2 separate regions of the Homo sapiens genome follow, and region 1 is linked to region 2. The links are contacts of gene promoters, found by promoter capture Hi-C in human tissues and cell types (Jung and others, 2019). All regions are on one chromosome and are shown on one strand. The core of a region is centred on a gene start or on the middle of the fragment in contact, and the rest is flanking DNA. Distances in the headings are between cores, read along the strand shown.

Region 1 (7,373 bases), core at 1,658-4,157, 49 kb after region 2:
ATTTTTTTTCTCATACTATTTCCTTCTCCAATTGAAGTCCTACCTACCCTCTATGGCTTCTAAGAATTTGTGATAGACTGCTAGAGCAGCATTAATAGATAAGGGTTCTGATACTGGTTTTGGATTTCTTTCCATTACAACTCAGGTACTGTATGTTCTCCTGTACATGTTAAATAAATAGAATAAATAACCAACATGACAATATTTCATACAAATACGGTATCTGTTCTGTAAGAGTTGAAAGAGCTCCAGAAAAGAAAGTAAAATGACCAAAGAAATTGGAAGTTTCTCCATAAAGCCAGACTAAAAAACTATGATGGTTCTATCAGAAAAAAAGAAAAGGTATAATGAAGATACTTCAATGAAATTTAGAAAACCTTAACTTCATGCACTACTTTATTAAATCCCTAATGAATAAAGGAAATATCACTTTATAAACTCAAAATAAAAATTATCCTGAAAAGCTGATACAGGTTTGAAGTACAAAAGGTTTCAAAAAGGTTTTGTTGTATCAAACATTATTAGACTGCTTAATGATCTCTGAAATACAATTCTTATTTTCTAAAGGTAAAATCAAGGAGAACCACTGCCATGCTCTCCCACAAAATATCCCTTAATGCCCTCAGATACTTAGAAAAAAAATATGGAAAAAAAGAGTACACTAACACGACTAAATGGATATTAATTTGTATAAATGTACCCTATTATTTTAAGAATTATATAATGAATACTGATAATTCACCATGATCGCTCAGCAAACTTCATTTTTCCTAAAAATAATTCAGGTAAACAAAATCAGAAAATCTGTTCTAGCTTAAACCTCCAATCTGCAACACTGTATATAACTAAAACCATACATATCAATATGAATTTAAGACTAAGTCCTAAAAAATTGCAGGCAAACTATCAAAATTATTTTCTAAGCCTTCATTTAAATCCTAAATTGTGTCCCAGAGACAAATCCTCATTTAGAGTCTAAAGAGGAAATTTTGAACCCAGAAGCCAAGAATAAAAATCGCAAGCATAGTATTAGATTCTAAACGAAGGAGATGCCTTTTTTCTATTACTTCATAATAAACAAAGTAACAGGGTTATCATAGCAAAGCAACATAATAAAGCAAGTAACAGGGTATCATAGCACTTTGAACATCTGTCTAATCCCCATAAATTAATCACAGCTTTGACAACAGAATTTGAAACTAATAGGAAAGACAGCTGAATGGTTACTATTACATAGTTACAGTCTCTGGTACTTACTAGTGTTGGCGAATTTTGATCTGGCCAAAAAGACTCTGGAACAGGCCAATGACCTATAGGAACCCCAGTTTTAGGATTTGGTCTGACATATATGAGTTTGTGACAGCTATGCCAAGGCTGAGATCCAAAAGGCCTTGATATATCTGGCTGCCCATCTATAGCAAAGAAATTAAGACAAAGAAAGCATATATCATAAGGGGGGATAAGCATAAAAAGTTAAATTATATCAATTATTACTTAAATTAATAAAAAATTCCTAATATCTTTTTCCAGGTTTTCCTATTTTTCTTAAATGGCAGAACACTATGTCTGCTGAATATTTAGACTAGATTGTAATTCATTAGACAATAAGTACAAATTCCAACTATGAGTTCGCCAGTTCAAAGGAGGTCCGCAGCATCCTTTGCCTTCCCAACTGGAACACACAAAACATACTTTACGGTGAATATCTGTTTGATGAATGGCATGTTTTCTTCATCAGATGATAAGAGCAAGCACCCAATTTGCCACCTTTATCATCATATCCCAAATGTCAAAAACAGTGCCAGGCACACAATAAATACTAGAATAAATAAGTACTGCAAATTGAGTATTTCTTAGAAATCATTTTAACCGAAGCCTAAAAAAAGAACTTAATAAGCAAATCTAGACCAAAGCACCTACCTTTAATCTAAAATAATTTTAGCAAAACAGCAACTATCTTCAACAATCCAGTAAACATTTACTAGTAACAAACTCTAAACAAAGCATTAAAATAATTTAAAATAAATACACTGTAACAATTAAAATTTTTTTAAGTTTGGTTTCGTTAAAGCAGACATGACACAACTTATTGTTATCACCCATTCCTTCCCTATAGTACCCTCTCAGTGCCCCCATTCTTTCATCTCTATGATCTTTCTCTTCTCCCAGGTACCTACTTTAGTGGACCACCTCTGCCAATTATCATTAAATGATTCTCTAAATCTTTGTGTGTGTGTGTGTTTTGTTTTTTTTTGTTTTTGTTTTTGTTTTTCTTTTTTTTTGAGATGGAGTTTCACTCTTGTTGCCCAGGCTGGAGTGCAATGGTGTGATCTCCACTCACCGCAACCTCCACCTCCCGGGTTCAAGCAGTTCTCCTGCCTCAGCCTCCCGAGTAGCTGGGATCATAGGCATGCGCCACCACGCCTGGCTCATTTTGTATTTTTAGTAGACACGGAGTTTCTCCGTGTTGGTCAGGCTGGTCTCAAACTCCCAACCTCAGGTGATCCACCCACCTTGGCCTCCCAAAGTGCTAGGATTAGAGGTGTGAGCCACCGTGCCCAGCAATGACTCTTAAATCTTGAAATAGGTAACATACAATGCAGAGGGTCTCAACTATAAACCATCCATTGGTTCTACTATAACTCCTTATATCCACTGGCTATTGGAAATAGTTCATGATTACAGAAGCCAAGAAAAAGCCAGGTGGGACTCAGCTAGAGTTAGAAGAATCAAGCTTAATGGCAAAGCCTGGTTCCTCATTTTTGACCCACAATAAACCATTTACTTTCAATCAGTTTGATCCCTGGTACAAAAGTAGCTAAGGAGTTAAACATCTAGGACTGAACACTTTGGGAATTAAAGGGCATAGGAGAAGCATATATATGTTGAGAGGCAATTGTATAATACTACAAAGAAATTATAAAGTTGCTTATCGATAAATCTTTGAAAAGGCTTTTGACTCATCAAAATGTCAGGCAATAGACAATCATTAATACAAAAAGGTGATGCTACTAGACTACTATTAGTTTACCTTGACTTTCCTATTTAATCTTCCCTCTTTACCAACAGCCTTTCTGTCTTAATAATTTGGCCTTGCCTATCTTAAGGCCAAATCACAGTAAGTTTTCAGTTCTAGTTGAATAAACAATAAAGCAAGTTTTGAATGTCTAAAAGAAAAGTGCAATAATACCTTCTACAGGGGAAGGATCTGGTCCTGCTTTTTCAAAGTTTATTACCACCCCACTTTGTACTTTCTGCACCAAGGACTCCAGACACTGATTAAGCATTCTTGGAGAACACACAGAATATGAACGGCCTGAGATTAAAAAAAAGAAGAAGAAGAAGAAGAAGAATATAGTAAACTAGTTAGTTGCAAGAATTCCTATCATTAGCAAGAAAAAAACAACTGTGGGGTTTCTGACAGTACTAATTAACAAAAGTTCAATGGTAAAAGTTGACTAATTTCATTATCTTATGAAAGAATGCACAAAAATCATTATTTCCAACCAACCAACAATCCCATTTTGTGAGAGTATGTACATTTTTTCTTCTAATTACAGGTATTTGGAACATAGAATTCTTGGTCTGAACAAAACACATGAAAACAAGTCACATATTTTATGTTTTTTAAAACATATATATAAAAAACACTATCTCCAACTGTTATGCAATACAATTTATCTTTAACACATATACACACACACATCTAGTAACTGTCTCCCCAAAATCTTATTCCTGCTTAACAAAAGTATTATCACTAAGATTTACTGTGCACATAGTAGGTATGTAATAACTACTTGTTTACTGGCAGTTTTTAAGTATTTTAAATATTTGCATTTTAATATACAGATGGTAGCGTGTGCTTTTCTGAATTTCACTTAGCTTATGTAAACACTTGGGAATTACCTGTCTCACGTGAATTCCCCTTTTGTACGTTTTAACTTATACTACTTTTGGTTCAGAAGCATTAAATACTAGTGATTTTTTTAAAAAGATACCAGTGAAAAGATCTTTTAAAGAGGAATTTTCAACAAAAATATCTAGACCTTTGCTATACAATACTTTATATACTAGACACATGTAGCTATTGAGAACTTGAAATATAGCTAGTCTGAATTGAAATGTATAGTAAGTAAAATATACACCTGATTTTGTTGACTTAGTATGAAAAAATATAAAACATCTCATTAGTAATTTTAAAATATCAATCTCACACTGAAGTAATAAGGATATATTGATTTAAATAAAATATATTATTAAAATTAATTTCATCTATTTTTAATTTTTAAAGTGGCTACTATGAAATTTTTTATTACATATGAAATTTGAATCAGATTTCTATTATACAGTTCTGATCCAGACCAACACTAAAAACCTTGACAGCTAAAACTCAATCTTTGGCCAAATATTTTGCAACATTATTTGTAATAAGCTCAATATGATGCCCTACTCTTTTACACATTCAACCAATTATTTCACAACACAAGCTACATCATTACATTTGACACATCAAATTACTTATATCAACTTACACTTAACGTGATTTGTTAAAGGCTACTCAGAAAAGAGAACATTATAGACAATGGTGATTCAAATCCTCAAAGTCAGCTTTACTTAGAAAAAATAAATACAACAACTTAACTGTATAAAATAATGATGATTATAACCTTAACAAATATCTACCAATTACTGAGTATCTACGTGCCTGGCACTGTTCCAATCATTTTATGATTATTAATTTCTTTAATCTCAGCAACAATTGTATGGGTTATTTTCCCCATTTTACAAATGAGAACACTAAGGCACAGAGAGGCTAACTAACTTTTCCAAGTTAGTATAGTGATAGAGTTACAATTCAAACCCTTACAGTGTATCAGAAACTATTCTGGATATCCTTTGTCCCTTGGAAATCCTCTGTGAATTTGAAATCAGTACTTAAAATACAGCATCTATATGAAGTCATGCTTACTTGAAAGAATTGGTAAATTCAAATTTTTTTCTAAGTCAATTTAAGTATATACAAAAAGCAATCCATAAAAAGGCTAACCATCTTTACATGCAAAATATTAGAAGTTTACATAAAGGTTGAGTATCTTATTTCATGAAATTTAAGCATATTCCTAAGATGTCATTAAAAAGCAAAAATTTTAAAGTATATAAACTATGACAATTATCTTGCTCTCCTAAGTTGTGTCATCAATTAAGAAAACATAAGCAAATCAATCTTAACACGAAATAAAATTACTAATCAGTATATTTTACAAAAATTGGAGAAAAAGAATAAAATGAGTCATTTGGTAATAAAAATCTATTAATTATTTTAAAAGTTAAACAGAAATAGCAAATTTTGCTTTCTTTACAAAGTGAGCCTATATCCTCCGTAATGTTCCTCATGTGTACTTATTGTCTATGTCAAAACTTACTCCTTGGGATATACAACACTTTGTGCTAATGCATAAAGTTTCTAGGATCACTACTTGTATTTGTGAAAAAAGTTTTATTAGCACACACCTTCAAGTCAAGAAGCTGTCTCACTTTGGGTTATGTAGAGTCCACAAAAAAGTCAAACTAAATATAGTGAGTCTAAAGGCAGTATTAGCATCTTTGTCAAATAGAGAAGAAGCAAATGAACATTTCTAAGTTGGTCAATAGTCCTTACAGAGGCTAAGAAAGTTAAATGTATTTAATCTAGAAATATCTATAATTTTTATAAAATACTTAAAAAATTCTTGATATATTTAACAACATGTCTATTACACATTTTAAAATTTGCTATCATCCTTGCACCTCCCCTAAACCTGCTTCTCCCCAGTGTACCATCTCAGTCCTTGGCACAGCCATCCATCTCTAGTGGTTCGGACCAACTGAATCATCTGGGAACCATCCTGGATTGCTTCTTCCCTTATTGTCCTCATCCTTGGTTCTCTTTTGCATTAAGCCACCTCTCAGGACCTCCAAAGCTAGCATAGAACAAAGTACTACTACTAGTCTTCCTGCTTTCATTCTTGCCACTCTATATTCTCATCTAACAGGTGAAGTGGTATTTCAGAAATAGAAATCAGACGTCACCTCCCGTAAAAAGCCTTCAAAAGGCTTCACATCATACTTGGAATATAAAAATATATTTATTGTAGCCTAAAGAGCCATTCAATATTTGGCCTCTGCCTACCCTCTAAACCTAGCTATTACTCTATTCCCCGCTATGTAAGCTCCAGCCATGCCAGCCTTCCTGTTGCTTCCAAACATATAGAGAGCATGTCCCTTTCCTTGCCATTTCCTCAAAAAATATTTATTGTAGCCTAAAGAGCCATTCAATATTTGGCCCCTGCCTACCTCTCTAAACCTAGCTATTACTCTATTCCTCCCTATGTAAGCTCCAGCCATGCTAGCCTTCCTGTTGCTTCCAAATATATAGAGAGCATGTCCCTTTCCTTGCCATTTCCTCTGCCTAGATATTTGTGTAATTAACTCCATTATTCAGGTCTCTGCTTAAATGTTACCTCCTCAGACGAAAACTTAGGTAGAATATGCTTTCTCTGCCTTAAGTTAGTCTCCACTCCCTTACTCTGTTTTGTCTTCATAGTAGGTAGCACCCTACTATCTACTACAATAGTAGTAGGTAGTACTACTATAAAATATCATTTATTTATTTTCCATGATTATTATCTGTCACTCAGTACAAAGACATAAGCTTTCTATTGTTCCTGCTGTACTCCCAACACCCAGTAACAGTTATTTGGCATAGAGTGGGCACTCATTAATTACCTGATATCAAAAGAAAAATGCTTACAATGACTACAATTATGCAATTAAAAAAATACATAGAAAGAAATATATTATTATTTTGGCAATACAGATGAATTTTTTCCAACATTTCCTTAGTGAACATGAATTACTCCATAATGGGAAAAATAAATGTACACAAATACACACATAAACAACTAAATTTTTTTTTTTTTTTTTTTGTGAGACAGAGTCTCTCTCTGTCAGCCAGGCTGGAGTGCAGTGGTACGATCTCAGCTCACTGCAACTTCCACCTCCTGCGCTCAAGCAATTCTCCTGCCTCAGCCTCCCGAACAGCTGGGATTACAGGCGTGTGCCATCACGCCCAGCTAATTTTTGTATTTTTAGTAGAGACGGGGTTTCACCATGTTGGCCAGGCTGGTCTCAAACTCCTGACCTCAGGTAATCCGCCCACCTTGGCCTTCGAAAGTGCTGGGATTACAGGCATGAGCCACCGCGCCCGGCCAACCTTAAGTTTTAAAAATGCACAGGAATTGTTAGCAGTGATTACATATTTGGATAGTGCAATACCAGTGGGTATTATCTTTTTTGTTCTTTCTACTTTTCTGGTGTTCCCCAAAACTTTGTTT
Region 2 (7,070 bases), core at 2,244-4,743:
ATACTTCCAGTTGGATGCGGTGGCTCACGCTTGTAATCCCAGCACTTTGGGAGACTGAGGCAGGCAGATCACTTGAGGCCAGGAGTTCGAGACCAACCTGGCCAACATGGCGAAACCCCATCTCTACTAAAAATACAAAATTAGCCAGGCATGGTGGCAGCCCTCTGTAATCCCAGCTACTCGCGAGGCTGAGGCAGGAGAATTGCTTGAACCCGGGAGGCAGAGGTTGCAGTGAGCCGAGGTCGTGCCACCGCACTCCAGCCTCGGTGACAGAGCAAAACCCTGTCTCAAAAAAAAATTAATTAAAAAAATAAAAACATATTTCTGGATACAACAGCATAGATTCATAGTCCAGCCGGTTACATGACGATTCCAAAGCCCCTTCTTATGTGAGCATGAAAGGACCTCGATGGTCCTTTCTTAAGTAAGATGAGATGAGAGATGGGGACATAGTCCAAAGAAGTTGATGCTTTCAGCCTTTCCTGCTTATCAGGCACCATGATAAGGCTGTTTGCTGTCATCTTCACAGTGAGAGGTAGGTATCATACACCCACTTTGCAGAAGAGGCAACTAAAGCTCAGAGCAATTCAGTGACTTGCCCAAAATCTGCCAGCCCACTGTGCTCTCTCCAGCACACCATTCTGAAAGGTATCAAAAAGTAGAGGGGCCCAGGTTCATTTTGAGTCTATGCACTGCATAGCTGTGAAGTACCAGAGGGCCGTGTTGCAGCTATCAGCCGGGACAGCAGGAAGCCCAGCGGCAGCGCTTTGCCGTTGCCTTCCTGGAAGGACAGGTGGAGGCTCACCTGCACCATTTCCCATGAAGTACTTGCTAATTTCATCTGGCTGTGCAGCACCATGTGCTGGGCTACCTTGCATTGCCCTCTGGCTTGCTCTAGCTGTTCCCTCAGACTTCTTTTAACAGTGCCCATGTCTTCCTCAGTGGGTGTGCTCTCTCTTCATGGCAAAATCCTCAAGGTCAGGGCTACAAATGGGACTCCTCCTGTACAACCCCAGACAGGCAGCCCATACAAGCACAAAGGAGATGCCTACCTATTAATTATGTCCTTACTGAATTGAAATGCAATGCTTCTATCCATCACATTAGTTTGGTAGACCTTTGGATTTGAAAGTGATTTGTTTATAAGAATCGGCTAGTGAAAAATGTTAAACCATAATTTTTAAAAGTGCTGGGCCTCATAGCAGTCTACCTACAGGTGATTCACCACAGCATTCCTGGTAAATGTGGGCAAAGTGAACACGCATTACGAGCAAAACAGTCTGGGCTGGCCATCGAAAGGCTTAGAATCCTACAGCCAAGAGGGATTTTAAGAGACCTCATCCCTTGGCTCCTGACAGCACCAAGACTGTGATGAAGGGCATGTGCCTTAGTGTCAAGGTGGCCCTAGGTTCAAACCCCAGCTTGGCCTGGTGGGACCTTAGGCAAGATCTTAAGCTCTTCAGACTTAGTTTCTTCATCTGCAAAATGGGAATGATAATACATTCCTCATAGGATTGCTGTGAGGATTCATTGCAATTGTGAATGGACAGGGTCTAATAGAGTAGCTGGAACACAGTAAGTGCTCAGTAATGCTCTCTATATATGTTGTTAAAATTACAAATAAATATCTCCAAGAATGGAGCCTCACTTAGCAGTATAATGAACATCCATCCCAGCAAGATAGAAATAAACATGATAATCTCTGCTTAAATGGTCAGAGACCACAGTGACTTACCCAGGTTCAAGGCTGAGTACACAGAAGAAAAATCACTTGCAGTTCATCTTTCATTCATTCACACTTTGAAATGTTTAGCCTATATAGAAAATATATCCTGTATGTTAAATTTCCCTAGCATTTTTCCCGAAGGATGCTTCTTAAAAGCAAGTTAGAATGGCATATTCATAGAGTTAGAAAGAAATGTTTGTAGAAGTTACACAAACAACCTTTTTTTAATTTGGGAAATCTTTTTATAAGCTTCTCTCCACTGCTACCACTGGCAAATAGTGAATCAGCTGTTTCCCCTGGAATTCCTGCTACAGGCAGCTCACAATGTGACAAGGCAGTCCTCACAAGTTACTGCCGCTCCATCACCATCAACATCTAAAATACGCAGGCAGTGAGCAAGACTCTAAGTCCCATAGAAGCTGAGCCCAGGTTACTGGTTCACTGCCATATGCCCAGAACCTAGCAGCACAGTGATTTGTGACCAAGCAGGTGATCAAGAGATATTTGTTGGATGGATGGATAGGTGGATGGATGGATGGATGGATGGATGGATGGATGGATGGATGCACGGACAGACGGATGGATGGACAGATGAATGGACAGATGGATTGATGGATGCATGGATGGATGGACAGATGGACAGATGGATGAATGATATGCCCTCTCTGGGTGCTATAGAATAAGTTAAACCTGTTTATTCTCCTTTCATACTATGGCTTAGAGAATACCCTGTCCATTCACAATTGCATTGAATCTAAAGTAAAGATTTGGGGATATTTTATGTGATGCAATTATAGAACTGTAACTATCCTAAGACCTGTAAACAATCCCAGGTTTGGGTGTCAGCAATAAAACTCTTTAAAGTGAATTACCCACTGATTACAGGGGTAGTTGTCAAGTGAAAACAGTCCATTGATTTTCAAATATTAACACTTACAGATGCCTGAGAGATAATTATTAAGAATTGCATTCAGTTCTTCTTTAATCTGTAACCACATATAAGCTACCATCTATTTTGAACTTAATACAAGGCCTAAGTCCTTAATAAAAATGTATGTAATTCTGAATTGATCACAAGGACAGACTTTTGACAGAACCTGCTCATATTTTTCAAAAATATGTGTCTACTCGTTGACAACATGGTCTCTTTCTCAAATTAGTCATTGGACTTACGAACTGTTGTATCTGAGAAGAACCAGATTATTAATAACTCAAGTTACATATATAAATTAGTGCATTCACTTTGATAAATAATAAATGAGGCAAGTCACCCTGCTCCGAACTGATCGTGCCATATCTTGCGTTGTTTTCTCTTTTGCAGAATTTCTTTTCATTTGCTGAAAGTTTTAAGTCATGCCCAATGACTGATTTATTGTTTTCTTCACAGGAGGAGGGGGGAAGCATTAGGTACCTGGTACCCAGCAAAAGCCCAACAAGCAAAGTTATCAGTGGAATTCCTCAATGTGACAAAGGGCTGGATGAGGGGTTCCTTGCTGGTACAACCAGGTCACAAGCCTAAGAAGGCTTGACGGGTGTGGCTGGCTCTCCCCCCACGGCCCTGCTCTGTTCCCGATCTGGGCTTTGCTGCCCTGGGCTGGGCTGCTTCTCCTGGCTCTCTGCAGGACCTCCAGGCTCCAGGAATTTGGACCGAGTGGTAGAGACATCGCCGGCAGAGACGGCAATCGCCAGCTTCCTCTCTGTGCTGTCTTGTGATTCAAAGCAGATTCTGCTCCACTTTTTTAAAAGGGGAGCACATGAATGCTGGAGACCCACAAGAACAGAGTCGAGCAAGGAAACGTGCAACAGTGATACAAAAGTCTGTGAGTACGTGGCTCATTCGAGGTGAGCCATGACAGGGATTTGTTCATGGGGAGCCCAGGGGCATCAAGGTCTGATTGCTGAGAGTGTTCTTGTGGGAGATGGGAGGTTATAAGAGCTGTGAGAACCCTGGGGCTTAAGAGTTTTGCAAATGACCCTGGGCTGGGACACACACACACACACATAGAAAGAAAGAGAGAGAGAGAGAGCCCTATGTACCAAGGTCATCCAAGCACTGCATTTGTACTTGGCTGTAGGGAGGAAGGGTTGGAAAAAAGAGAAGATGTTTTCTATCTTGGACCTTTACCTAAAATAGGCACCATCGTGCTCAGTGGCCTTGCTTGTAAACTTCTACAGGAGGGTGAGTTGGAGAGAGTGAGTGTGAGCGTGAGTAGCAGGGTGAGCTGCTCACTGGTGAGTCCAGGAAGTGACTCTGGACCTCTTCTTACATCAGTTTGGTATGATACCACAGTCAGACAACTTAACAAAAACTGCTGCTGGCTGGATGTGTGGCATGGTCGTTGAAAACATTTTTTTACTTTGCCTTTCTCTTCTTGCATTATTTTCTAGTTAATGATCTCTCTTCCTTGGAAGAGTACATTTCTGGGGTAGGAACTATCTTTGTGAAAATATTCTTTTTTAGAGACTAATTTGCATCACAAGAATTCTGATATTCGAGGTACAATTAGTTCATGTATCAATATTTTAATTCACATAGGTATTCTCAAAATTTTATATACCACTCATAGAAGACCAGGATTTGAGTCACAGCACTGTTTCTTTCCCCATACAAATGAGTCACTGGGCCTCAAAGGTTCAATCATCCTCTTTATAGATGAAATATAATAACAGATACTAGTGAGATTGTTGGGATGATTAACTGCAAATGTACAAAGTCCTTTTTAACATAGTAGATAATTATTTATTATTATTCCTGATAGACACAGCACAGCTATAAGCTGACTATATACCAAGAACAATGAGTAGGATTACCTCTTACATTTCTTTTCCCAACATAATGCTTTGCTTCTGATCTGACCAGGGCTTTGCTAAAGTCACACATCCAGTAAGTGGCCGAAGCAGATCTTCAGACCCACAGTTTGGCTGCCAAAGGACCACAGTGAGTATTTCTAATGCTGAAACAAGAGGGTGCAGCTCTGCAGCCCAGACGGCTGGGCCTCAGGGTAGGTAACCAAGACAGCTCAATGCATCTCTCCCTCAGCCGTCCCTAGCCCCTAAAAACAGAGCTGGGGGTCCCAGTCCTCTGTGGGACATGGCCCTCTTTCATCACCAGCTTCCAGCCTACCCTGCATCTCTTCCCTCTGAATTGCAGGAACCCTCCCAGCCTCCATGCCGCCTTTCCTGATCACCCTCTTCCTCTTTCACTCTTGCTGCCTCCGAGCAAATGGCCACCTCCGTGAAGGAATGACATTGCTGAAGACTGAGTTTGCACTTCACCTCTACCAGAGTGTGGCCGCGTGTAGAAATGAGACGAACTTTGTCATCTCTCCTGCTGGTGTGTCCCTCCCCCTGGAGATCCTGCAGTTTGGAGCAGAAGGGAGCACTGGTCAGCAGCTGGCAGATGCCCTGGGGTACACTGTCCATGGTAAGAGGCCTGCCCACGTGCACACTCACTTACCCTCCTGTTCACACTCACACTCTCTCCAGCTCACCCTCCTGCTCACACTCACACTCACTCTCTCCAGCTTACCCTGCTGCTCATACTCACACTCACTCTCTCCAGCTCACCCTGCTGCTCAGGCTACCTGGGAGATAGGGAGCTCAGCTCCCTATGGTGTGCACATGGGGAAGAGTGATCACTGGACAGGTCTGTGACAGAAGGCATTCAGACTTTGGGATGGTGGTGACCCTTGAATTTTAAGGTTCCCTTCTAACCTAATAGGTTTCATGGCAATGTTTCAGTTTCATTTGACACACCCTAGCATAGTGCCTTCCTAGGTGCCAGGCAGTGCTGGAGGCACTTACAAACATTAATTGAATTAATTGTCACAACAGCTCTGTTGAGGATGATAATTTTATTATCATCCCAATTTCAGAGATGAGCAAATAGGCATGGAGAGTTGAAGCAACTTGCTCAAGTTCACAGAGCCAATAAGTGACAGAGTTGGGACTCAAGCCCAGGCTGCCTGGTTTAAGAGCCCATGCTTTTGACCAACCTGCTTTTATAAATCTGTGACTTCTAGCCAGTGCCAGATCTGCCAGCTTATTTCTATGGATTATGTATTTTAGAGCGGCTTTGCCGGCAGCAGCATGAGTCTTTCGAATGCCAGGTCAGCTTCCCCTCTGCTTACGCTCAGTGCCTCAGCTCAATGCCTGGCCTCAGAACCAATCTACCAACTCCAGCTAAAACAGATACTCACACACATTAACATTTTTCTTCCTAGACTAGGATCTAGGAATTCAGCAAAGACAGAACAAAAAAAAAAAAAAAAAAAAAAGAGGCTATGAGCTCTGCGGCCTCACGTTCATTCAAAGTGGAATGAAGCTGTCCTAGGCAGGGTCATCCCGGCCTACCCATTCTTCACCCTGTGGGTGAGCAGGGCAGTAAAGCCCCACCACCTATACCTGGGTGACACTGAGCACCTTTGTTAATCTGTCTGGGCCTCTGCTCGCTCATATATAAAATGGGGATAATAATAGCCCTCAATTCACAGGACTGTCAAAAGCATTCAGTGTGATCAGGAGTGTTGAGTGTTTAGCACAATGTCTATGAACACAGTCAACCTCCGGCATTTTTTACCCTGTCATTGCATATTCTGGCAGGTCTAAAAATGTTCTTCCTGTGTGCAAATGTGCATGGACAAACTAGGCTAGGGCAGAGAAAAGATTTCACACAAAAATTCACTTCAAGCCAACTTACTCTACTATTTTAATGTTTCTGACTAAAAGAATGTGGGTCCCCTGGCCCAGAGAGGGTGGAAAGATGGAGAGGAGAGTTCTGTGACCATTCCTCAGGTCACACCACACTATGGACAAGGGAAGTGTTTCAATTCTTCTCTGCAGACAGTCAACATTCCTAGGAATGTGATCTCAGAAATACATGTGACCTTCCTCGATAGAGTAAAATCTGATTATAAGTATGTTTTTATCCATTTTTTTCTTACTACACTCAAATGCAAGCACTTAAGTTAGGCTGATTCATGAGATCAAGATTCTGAGTCAGTCTTTTGCAATTGTGGATTCTCAGGAGCAGCTTCGGTAGTGAACATATTGTGGACAAGTGATGTCTGCCTACTATTGTCCTCTGCAGCCTCGTTTGGCTGGGGACCCTGGCCAGGGTGGACTCTGGGTTCCCGTGCCTCCAGAGAACATTAGCCAGGAAACTCAGGGGTCTGCTGCTGCCTCCTGGCTTGGCTTCTGCAACATGAAGGGTGTCAGAGGGGACAGACCCCAAGTGAGTGAGAGTTTCATCCCAGTGAAAACCAGCCGGAGCCAGGTAGTGGAGGAAAAGATACCCAGCATTTTGTCTTACAGGGAGGGTTTGTAGATAACTGCAGGGCTGTGC

What was found. Contacts are between HindIII fragments. The study calls those that stand out against the background at their distance.
Region 1: a contact is called between a fragment that was not itself captured here and the fragment with the promoter of SERPINE3 in region 2, in 1 of the 25 tissues and cell types used here (aorta).

Annotation. Positions count from the first base shown.
Region 1 is chr13:51,386,129-51,393,501 of GRCh38, forward strand. INTS6 (integrator complex subunit 6) reads right to left here. Exons shown (of 18, transcript NM_012141.3): 6 at 3,191-3,316; 7 at 1,258-1,412. Among named protein-coding and RNA genes, the nearest start is that of MIR5693, 41 kb to the left of the region's middle. The HindIII fragment of the contact is 3,610 bases long and covers 1,103-4,712 here.
Region 2 is chr13:51,336,198-51,343,267 of GRCh38, forward strand. It overlaps SERPINE3 (serpin family E member 3), which reads left to right and starts at 3,494. Exons shown (of 10, transcript NM_001386375.1): 1 at 3,494-3,546; 2 at 4,587-4,664; 3 at 4,878-5,150. The coding sequence starts at 4,895. It also overlaps a transcript of INTS6 not described here. The HindIII fragment of the contact is 9,065 bases long and covers 1-4,562 here.